2 separate regions of the Homo sapiens genome follow, and region 2 is linked to region 1. The links are contacts of gene promoters, found by promoter capture Hi-C in blood cells and fetal thymus (Javierre and others, 2016). All regions are on one chromosome and are shown on one strand. Each heading gives the region's core, a stretch centred on a gene start or on the middle of the fragment in contact. The rest is flanking DNA. Distances are from core to core; before and after follow the strand shown. Region 1 holds the start of CDKL2 (cyclin dependent kinase like 2). Region 2 overlaps MRPL1 (mitochondrial ribosomal protein L1).

Region 1 (5,035 bases), core at 1,270-3,769:
GGCTCAAGTGAGCACATTTTTACTATTTTGTGTTCCTTTTATATCAAAATGACTTCTTAACTATTCTAACGTATTTCTGCTCTCAAATCCTTAAGCCTCTATCTCACCATTACCTTTTTATGCAAAAATAAAGTTCTTTTACTGAGATGGCCTGGGCCCACAGTGTATGCCCTACACTTTTCTCAGTTTTTTCCATTTTCTCTAAACCTCTTCAAGCCTAACCCCTTCTCATATATTATTACCTACTCTTCAGTACCTCTCCTTGGTTTTTCATTAATTATTCATTTTCTTGCCCCTTTAAGGTCTCTCCCCACTCTTTTTCCCTATAAATATTTCCCTCTTTAAAAAGAAAAAATAGGCCGGGTGCGGTGGGTCACGCCTGTAATCCCAGCACTTTGGGAGGCTGAGGCGGGCGGATCAACTGAGGTCAGGAGTTCGAGACCAGTCTGACCAACATGGCGAAAACCTGCCTCTACTAAAAAAAGAAAAAAATTAGCCAGGCGTGGTGGTGGGGTCCTGTAATCCCAGCTACCTGGGAGGCTGAGACAGGAGAATCGCTTGAACCCAGGAAGCAGAGGTTGCAGTGAGCCAAGATCGTGCTGCTGCACTCCAGCCTGGGCAACAGAGTGAGACTCCGCCTCAGAAGAAAAGAAAGAAAAAATAGTAACACAATCCTGTTTCTACATAATACCTTCTCTATTAACAATCCTGTAGATGGCCAGAATGTGTAAGTCTTTAATAACCTCTGTCCTCTACAACTGGCTTTCAAACTCAGTTCTTACTGAAATTGTTTTTTTTTGGTTTGTTTGTTTTCTTTTTTTCAGTCTCCCAAGTAGCTGGGAGTACAGGCGTTCACAACCATGCCCAGCTAATTTTTGTATTGTTAGTAGAGACAGGGTTTCACCATGTTGGCCTGGCTGGTATCAAACTCCTGACCTCAGGTGATCTGCCCGCCTTGGCCTCCCAAAGTGCTAGGATTACAGGCATGAGCCACCGCATCTGGCTGAAATTGTTTCCTAAAGCATCACTTGTTCGCCAAATCCAGTATTTTCAGTCTTTATCCTTTGGTTCCCTGTGAGATATAAATAGATTATTGAAGCTTCTAGGCCTCTTGCATGAAGGGGCCTTAAAATGTTATACGGTTGAATATGATTATAAAGTTGCAAAAGTAAAATAGTTTTGCGCTCTTGTTCTTAAGCTTCAGGCCCAACAAAACTGAATCTACCCCCATATAAAAGAAGTTCATCAGATTCTCTTATAGCCTATAGAGGTACCAAATGGGACAGGGCTTCTCGCAACTTGGACACAGCTAAGGACAGAGCTAATTGCTACACTAAGAGTCACATCTTGAATTGACCAAATAATTCTATTCTTTCCATAACTAGGCCTCAGGTCTGGTTCTCAATATTACAGGTTCAGGAACTAGATTTTAAGCAGTCTGACCAAGGTAATTAACCACTGGGAGATTAATGCAAACTAACCAAACTCACAAAAGACTATAAAAAGAATGTCTATTTCTTAATGTACAAGAAGGAATCAATACCTTAACATTAATGATTAATACCTTAATATTGACTAGGGTATATGGTAGACATTTGTCTATCCAGGACACTCTATTCCCTAAATCAAAGTAGTTTCGAGACCAAAATGATCATGAACATTTAGTTATCATGATTGAAAGTGTTATTTTACTGGCCTTATGGCCTCCTCGCTGCCTCAGATTCTTTGAAAATGGGGTAAGCTCTGTTCCTGTGTGATTTAAGCCTGTGCATGATTCTGACCTACCAGTCTTGCTCAGTCGTGGATTGAGCTGCATTTTTGCATTTAAGGCAAGTTTTATCGCAAGCCCTAACTCCACCCCATTTGGCTGCCATACGCGGGTGTTGTGCGTGTCCTCCAGATCCCCAGCCATCCCAGCGCTTTCCCATTCCACTCATGCCCTCTCTTCCCCTTCCTCCATCTCAGTGTTTTCCCTCACTTTCAATGGCCAGACTGGCCTTCCCAAGGTCCCTCCTAACGTCAGGTCTGTCATCACCTACCTTCTTCCACCTTGCCTCGCCTACTAATCATCACCTCCTAAACTGTCACCGTTATCTCCTACCTGGCTCACACTGGCCCCACCGCCCAGAACAGAAAGGAAGCATGGAATCCCGGTCAGGCCGCGCCTACGCGACTCAGGGCGCCCGGCGCCCGCCCCTGCCCCAGCGGCGATGCTATGAGGGAAACCGTATCGCATTTTGCATAGTCTTCGCAGTCCTACATAACCGCCACCTTTACCCTTCGCGTGGGCATCACAATCGCCTCCTCCCGCTGGGGAAGGCAGAAAGGCGCCTCCTGACGAGAACCAAGGCGTGTGGGGACGCAGGGCCTCTGCGTGTCAGGGAGCAGAACCTGGGCCGAGCCCTAGGTGAAGGGGCGGGGTGGTTGGCCCTGAGCCAATCATGGCTCGTGACGACTCGGCTCGGCCAATCAGAAGAAGGGAGGCCTGGCGCTCTCGGGGCGGGTGAGAAACCGCCCCCCCTTGCAGCTCCGCGGCCAACGCCTTCGCCCAGGGGTAGTTGGAGCGGTGCAGGTTCCCAGGCTCCAGGTACTGGGCGCCTTACGAGCTGGGAGGTGGTGCCTCTCACCCAGCTAATTGCTCTCTAGCCCTTGGCCTTCACAGGTGTTGGTGCCTGCCGTGAACGCATTCTGACCTGGGCCGTATCTGTCTCCCAAGACTTTGTGCCTATGGTTGGGGACAGAGTGAGGTCGTTGCCTTGACGACGACAGCATGCGGCCCGTGGTCCTCCTAAGTGTGAGCTTGCGGCGGACCGAGGCCCACCTGCCTCCCTGCCTGCTTCGCCCTGGACTCGTGACTGCGTCCGCAGAAGAAATCACAACAGCGCTGGAATTGCTAGTTTGCTAGGCAGCATCTTTTGGACCTGCGAACCATATGCATTTCACCTCAAATTTGTTTCCAAGTTGAAAACCTTTGGGTCTTTCTATGCGAACGGATTGAAGAAACGGTAAGTATAGTACGTTTTAAAGCTTCTATTATCTCGTTCTTTGATCTATAAAAGATTTCAATCTTTTTTTTTTTTTTTTTTTTTTTTTTTTTTTTTTTTTTTTGAGACGGAGTTTCACTCTTGTTGCCCAGGCTGGAGTGCAATGGCATGGTCTCGGCTCACCGCAACCTCTGCCTCCTGGGTTCAAGCGATTATCCTGCCTCAGCCTCCCAAGTAGCTGGGATTACAGGCATCACCACCACGCCCGGCTAAGTTTGTATTTTTAGTAGAGACAGGGTTTCTCCATGTTGGTTAGGCTGGTCTCGAACTCGCAACCTCAGGTGATCCGCCCGCCTCGGCCTCCCAAAGTGTTGGGATTACAGGCGTGAGCCACCGCTCCCGGCCCTTTAATCTGTCTTAAACAAAATAAAAAATTAGCATTCTCCAAATATTTTTATCAAAATTGTTGCTTTTAGAACCATCCAGAAATAACACCTTGCCCATTGGCCAGGTTTCTTTTTCGTTTGTATTACCTTTCCGTTCAAGAGTAGAAGGCATGAGAAGTTATAGTTTATGAGTAACTGTTTCAGGAAACAGGAGGCTTTGTAGGCTGTGATACTTTTAAAGTATTTGTGGACAGTGTCACTTGAAAAAGCAGGTGTGTTCAATGTGGTGTGTCCAGATATGCAATTGGTTGGGAGAATAAACTTGAAGCAGTCAACTTGCATTAATGTTAGCTTGGGATATGCTTCAGAACACCTCAGACATGCTTAAAGTCATTTTTTTTGGTTCACTTTGTGCTTTCAAATATTGAGGACATCAATTACAAAATGTTTTAAAATAATCCAGGTTATAGATTCAAGCTATTTTTGTCATTGGTATGATAAACCTAAAGCCTAGTGCTTAATAAAACATACTCTCTTAATGGAAGAGAAAAAAATTAAGAAGGGATAGAATTATATGGAGATTTTTTTTTTCAAATACAAACAGTTTATTAAAAAATAGTTAATGGAAGTGGAATAGAAGGTAAAATGTCAAATGCATGGAAAGTTAGTGTCTGGGACACTGCTCTGTAAAAAGTTTGTAGTAGAATCTACTATGAAAACTGGTAGTAAAATAATAATTTAAGTCGATGTTCATTGGTATTGTTTTCATTTCCCACCCCTCAAGATCAATCTTCTGGTTCTCCACATATAGCTACATTAAAAATATATATATTATAAAATCTCAAACTATTATATGTCAAGTGTGGAAAACGTATTGTATACATTGGATTAGCATAGTTTGCTAGAACAAAGAGAATATTTGTTTTGTCTTTGCATCACTGTTCCAATAGAGAAATAGGAAAAACAGTTCACGATCTGAGTAAATTTTAGATTGCCGTAAGTATACAATTAATACAACAGGCAAGAATTATTTCTTGTTAAAATCTATCTGTATTTGGACTGAAATAATTTTTTATCTATTATTACTGAAATAATAGATAGTTAAAATCTATCTGTATTTGGACTGAAATAATTTTTTTCTGTACGAAAGCATTTTGTCCAATGATTGCTGGACCTTCGTCAATCATTGGTAAAACAAGAAAGATTCTCTTAGGATTGCCTTTATTCAGAAAATGTCATATAATATGAGTAAAAAATTTCAAGGCCGGGCGCGGTGGCTCACGCCTGTAATCCCAGAACTTTCGGAGGCCGAGGCGGGCAGATCACGAGGTCAGGAGATCGATACAATCCTGGCTAACACGGTGAAACCCCGTCTCTACTAAAAATACAAAAAGTTAGCTGGGCGTGGTGGCAGGCGCCTGTAGTCCCAGCTACTCGAGAGGTTGAGGCAGGAGAATGGCGTGGACCCGGGAGGCGGAGTTTGCAGTGAGCCAAGATCGCGCCACTGCACTCCAGCCTGGGCGACAGAGCAAGACTCCGTCTCAAAAAAAAAAAAAAAATTTCAAACACAAATTCAAATTATACTTATAGTGAGTAATCATTAACAGGGTTTTTGAAATACTTTTACTGTACTTGGTACTACTAATATTTAATTTAATTTAATAA
Region 2 (5,035 bases), core at 992-3,491, 2.2 Mb before region 1:
TAATACATTTCTCTTCCCCTTATTCTTAGCATATAACCTCACTTGCTACTTCAGAGAAAATAGCCCTCAGAACTTCCTGAACTACTGAGTCTCCCTGATCCAGCACTCATTCTCAAAATCTCTCCCACCCCGTGGCAATGAGATAGAAACAACTCCCTCTCCTTTCTTATCTCTTTTAATTGATAGTGAAAGGTTAGAGTTCCCTTGAGGTCAGTCCTATACTGCCTTCTCACCTGACTCTATAATCCTCACTCTCCCTAGGGAATCGTATCCATCTATTCTTGCCTTTCTGCTACAACCATCACAGTCCAGGCTACCATCACCTACCACCTGGATTACTGCCACAGCCTCTAAACTGTTCTGTCTTCTACACTTGGCCCTCTCCATTTCTTTTCCACCTATATTAGTAAGAGGGATCATTTTAAAATGAAAATTTCACCATGTCCTTAAAATACTTGGATGGCTAAACTTGGCTCTTTGAACAAAGGAAATTTTTACCAAGGTACTCCACGAGCTACTACTAAACTATCCAGTGAGCATCCTCTAGCCCCACTCTCCCTCATGTTCACCATGCTACAAATACACTCATCTTCTTTCAGTTACTTGACTCTGTTCTTTACCACCTAAGAATTTTCATAATCTTCCATCTATGACATTTTCCCCTATTGCTTTCCACTCCACTAGTTCATAGTAATACAGTTATCTTTCAAGGACTCTACTTAACATTATTTCTTCAGAAGAGTCTCCCCTGAATAGATTAGGTCTCTCATATACATTTGTATAACATCTTACACTTTTCCTTCACAGCACTTAGGACAATTTTAACTAAAGAAATAATTATCCAGGTCGGGCGTGGTGGCTCATGCCGGTAATCCCAGCACTTTGGGAGGTTGAGGAGGGTGGATCACAAGATAAGGAGTTCAAGACCAGCCTGGCCAACATGGTAAAACCCCGTCTCTACTAAAAATACAAAAAAAATTAGCCGGGTGTGGTGGCATGCTCCTGTAATCCCAGCTACTCGGGAGGCTGAGGCAGGAACTGCTTGAACCCCAGAGTCAGAGGTTGCAGTGAGCCAAGATTGAGCCACTGCACTCCAGCCTAGGCAACAGAGGAAGAGTCCATCACAGAAAAAAAAACAAAATATACACACAAAAGTTAGCTGGGCATGGTGACACGTGCCTGTAGTCCCAGCTACTCAGGAGGCTGAAGCAGGAAAATCACTTGAAGCTGGGAAGCAGAGGTTGCAGTGGGCCAAGATCGTGCCACTGCACTCCAGCCTAGGCAACAGAGTGAGACTCCATCTCAAAAGGAAAAAAAAAAGAAATAACTGGCCAGGCGCGGTGGCTCATGTCTGTAATCCCAGCACTTTGGGGGGCTGAGGTGGGCGGATCACGAGGTCAGGAGATCAAGACCATCCTGGCTAACACGGTGAAACCCCGTCTCTACTAAAAATACAAAAAATTAGCCAGGCATGGTGGCGGGCGCCTATAGTCTCAGCTACTCGGGAGGCTGAAGCAGGAGAACGGCGTGAACCCGGAAGGCAGAGCTGGCAGTGAGCCGAGATCGTGCCACTGCCCTCTAGCCTGGTCGACAGAGCAAGACTCCGTCTAAAAAAAAAAAAAAAAAAAAAAAAAAAAAGAAATAACTATCCAAGGCTGGGTGTAGTGGTTCACGCATGTAATCCCAACACTGGGAAGCCAAGGCGGGTTGATCGCTCATGCCTATAATGCCAGCACTTCAGAAGACTGAGGTGGGAGGATAATTTGAGCCCAGGAGTTCAAGACCAGCTTGGGCAACATAGTGAGACCCCGTCTCTTGAAAGAAAAGAAAAGAAAAAGAAAAAGAAAAAGAAAAGAATTATCCAATTAATTCCTGCTCCTCAATAGATGGTAAGCATCATGGGCAGGAAATGTATATAGCTTGTTCAGCATTGTATACCTAGCACCTAGCACAGTGTTTGTCAAGTGAAGACTCTAAATAAACATTTGTTGAATGAAGAAAATTTGAACAAATGAGAGCAAAAATTGGACTCAAATATTATGCATTACAGCACATGAAAGGGGCCATTTTTCTGATGATCCATTTATTCATTCATTCATTCAACAAATACGCCAATGAAACATGTGCTAGCACTGCTGGAAGCATTTAGGTACATCAGTGAATAAAACATAAAAATCCCTATCCTCATAGGGCTTATGTCTAGAGGGGGAAGACAATACCAATAAAAATAATTGGGGGATGGAGGCACTGCAGGATAAAAGGGATTGTATCAGTGGAAAGTGGTTTGCAATTTTAAGTATAGTGGTTAAGACAAGCCTCATTAAAAGGGTGACATTTGAGGCCAGGCATGGTGGCTCATGCCTGTAATCCCAGCACTTTGGGAGGCCGAGGTGGGAGGATCACGAGGTCAGGAGGTCGAGACCAGCCTGGCCAACATGTTGAAACCCCATCTCTACTAAAAATACAAAAATTAGCTGGCCGTTGTGACAGGCGCCTGTAATCCCAGCTATTCAGGAGGCTGAGGCAGGAGAATCGTCTGAACCCAGGAGGCGGAGGTTGCAGTGAGCCGAGATCGCGCCATTGCACTCCAGCCTGGGCAACAAGAGCGAAACTCTGTCTCAAAAAAAAAAAAAAAGGGGGGTGATATTTCAGCAAAGAGTTGAAAAGATATGGGAAAGTTAGCCACGCAAACACCAAGAAACTGTTCTAGGGCAAAGATTCTAAGGCAAGAGTGTTCTTAATGTGTTTAAGAAACTAGAAGGCCAGCTGGTTACAGCAGAGTGAGTGTGAGGGAGGATAGATGGAGAAGAGGTCAGAGAGGTCAGCTGGGTGAGGCGGGGGTAGGAGAAGGTAGGCACAAGGTGATATCGAAGACTTGTACACCAGTGCTACTCAACAGAAGAATAATGTAAGCCACATGTACAATTTAAAATTTTCTAATAACTACAATATATAAGGTAAAAAGAAACAGTAAGTTAATATTTTATCACTAATACCCCAAAGTATTATTAAATTATCAATGTAAAAAAATTGGGCTGGGTGTGGTGGCTCACGCCTGTAATCCCAGCAGTATGGGATGCTGAGGCGGGTGGATCACCTGAGGTCAGGAGTTCAAGACCAACCTGGTCAACAGGGCAAAACCTCGTCTCTACTGAAAATACAAACATTACCCGGACCCAGTGGCATGTGCCTGTAATCCCAGCTCCTCGGGAGGCTGAGACTACAGAATCACTTGAACCTGGGAGGCACAGGTTACAGTGAGCCGAGATCATGCCACTGCACTCTAGCCTGGACAACAGAGCAAGACTCCATCTCAGAAAAAAGTATTTTACATGTTTTTTTTTATGCTAAGCCCTCAAAATCTAATGTATATTTGACAAATTCAATTCAGATTAACCAATTTGAAGTGCTCAATAAATAGTGGCTAACAAAATGAATAGCACAACTGTAGGCCATTCTAAGGGCTTTGGATTTAGAAAAATGGAAAGGCTTTGCAGAGTTCTGAGCACAGGAGTAACATGACTGAGGTCCTTAAAGGATGAATTTCACTACTCATTGACAGTAGACTGTAGAGAAATCCAAGTGAGAGATGGTAGCAGGTGGGAACAAGGTAGCTGCAGTGGGGCAGTGAGAAGTCAGAGTCTGGATTTATTTTAAGCGTAAAGCCAACAGGATTTGCAAACTATTTAATGTAAAGTGTGAGATACAGAGAGGAGTCAGCCAGGTGCAGTGGCTCAGAGCCTGTACTGCCAGCACTTCAGGAGACTGAAGTGGAAGGATCACTTGAGCCCAGGAGCTCGAGAGCAGCCTGGGCAACACAGTGAGATCTCATCTCTACCAAAAAAAAAATTAGCTGGTCATAGTGGGCCCCAGAGGTCAAGGCTGCAGTGAGCCGTGACCGGGCCACTGCACTCTAGCCTGGCCAACACAGTGAGATCCTGTCTCAAAAAAAAAAAAGAGTCAAGGATATTCTGAGGTTTTGGCCTGGACAAATGAAGGATGGAATTGCCTTCAAATGAGAAGAAAAAGACTGCAGGCTATGACAATGAATTTGATTTTAAACAACTGCAAGGTGCTGATATGCTATCAAAGTGGAGATGTAGAATACTCAGATGAGTATAAGAATCTAAAGTTCAGAAGAGTGATCCCAACTGTAGATATAAATTTGATAACCATTAAGGTATAGACAATAATCGGCTGGGCATGGTGGCTCATGCCTGTAATCCCAGCACTTTGGGAGGCAGAGGTGAGTGGATCACTTGAGATCAGGAGTTCGAGACCAGCCTGGCCAACATGGTGAAACCCCACCTCTACTAAAAATACAAAAATTAGCCGGGCATGGTGGCACGCGCCTGTAATCCCAGCTACTTGGGAGGCTGAGGCACAAGAATTGCTTGAACCCGGGAGGCAGAGGTTGCATGAGCCAAGATCGTGCCACTGCACTCCAGCCTGGGTGACAGAGCAAGATTCCTTCTCAAAAAAAAAAAAAAAAAAGATATACACAATAATTGGCCATCCATTTCTCCAACAGCCAGGAAGAATGCTGGTATTGAGGCTAATACCTAAAAAGAACAGTAGCTACCGTGGCTTCCAGTGCTTTAATGAACCTCCGATGTGGGGCCTTCTGGCAAAACATTTGCAATTTCATATTGTTGAAGCATTCATTGTATCCCTGGGGGTTTTCGCTATGTTCGCGGTGGCTGAGCCAAGAAAGAAGGCATGTGTCGACTCCTACAGAAATGATGATTCCATAAAAGATTTTGAGGAGATGAGGAAAACGTATATTTCAGAGCACAAAGTGATTTTGCAATATAAAGAATTTCTTTGGGTTGAATTACCTAAAAGTTTGTCACTGACCTGTGTTCTTGAACTATGAAATGTGAAAGTTTCTCCTGATAAGTAAACAATTAAAAAAATAAAAAAGATAGACAATAATCAAAGCCACAAACTTTGGATGAGCTAACCAAGGAGTGAATTTAGATACAGAAGAGATGAGAATGAAGGATGGAACCCTGGCTTCCAGAACACTCCAAAG

Evidence for each region. The method cuts DNA at HindIII sites, captures the fragments that hold promoters and counts their contacts. A CHiCAGO score of 5 or more calls a contact.
Region 2: a contact is called between a fragment that was not itself captured here and the fragment with the promoter of CDKL2 in region 1, in 1 of 17 cell types (activated CD4 T cells). The highest score is 5.1, in activated CD4 T cells.

Annotation. Positions count from the first base shown.
Region 1 is chr4:75,628,012-75,633,046 of GRCh38, reverse strand. It overlaps CDKL2 (cyclin dependent kinase like 2), which reads left to right and starts at 2,519. Exons shown (of 14, transcript NM_001330724.2): 1 at 2,519-3,005. The HindIII fragment of the contact is 1,829 bases long and covers 1,201-3,029 here.
Region 2 is chr4:77,864,350-77,869,384 of GRCh38, reverse strand. All of the region lies in intron 1 of MRPL1 (mitochondrial ribosomal protein L1), which reads right to left. Among named protein-coding and RNA genes, the nearest start is that of MRPL1, 4.0 kb to the right of the region's middle. The HindIII fragment of the contact is 6,388 bases long and covers 1-5,035 here.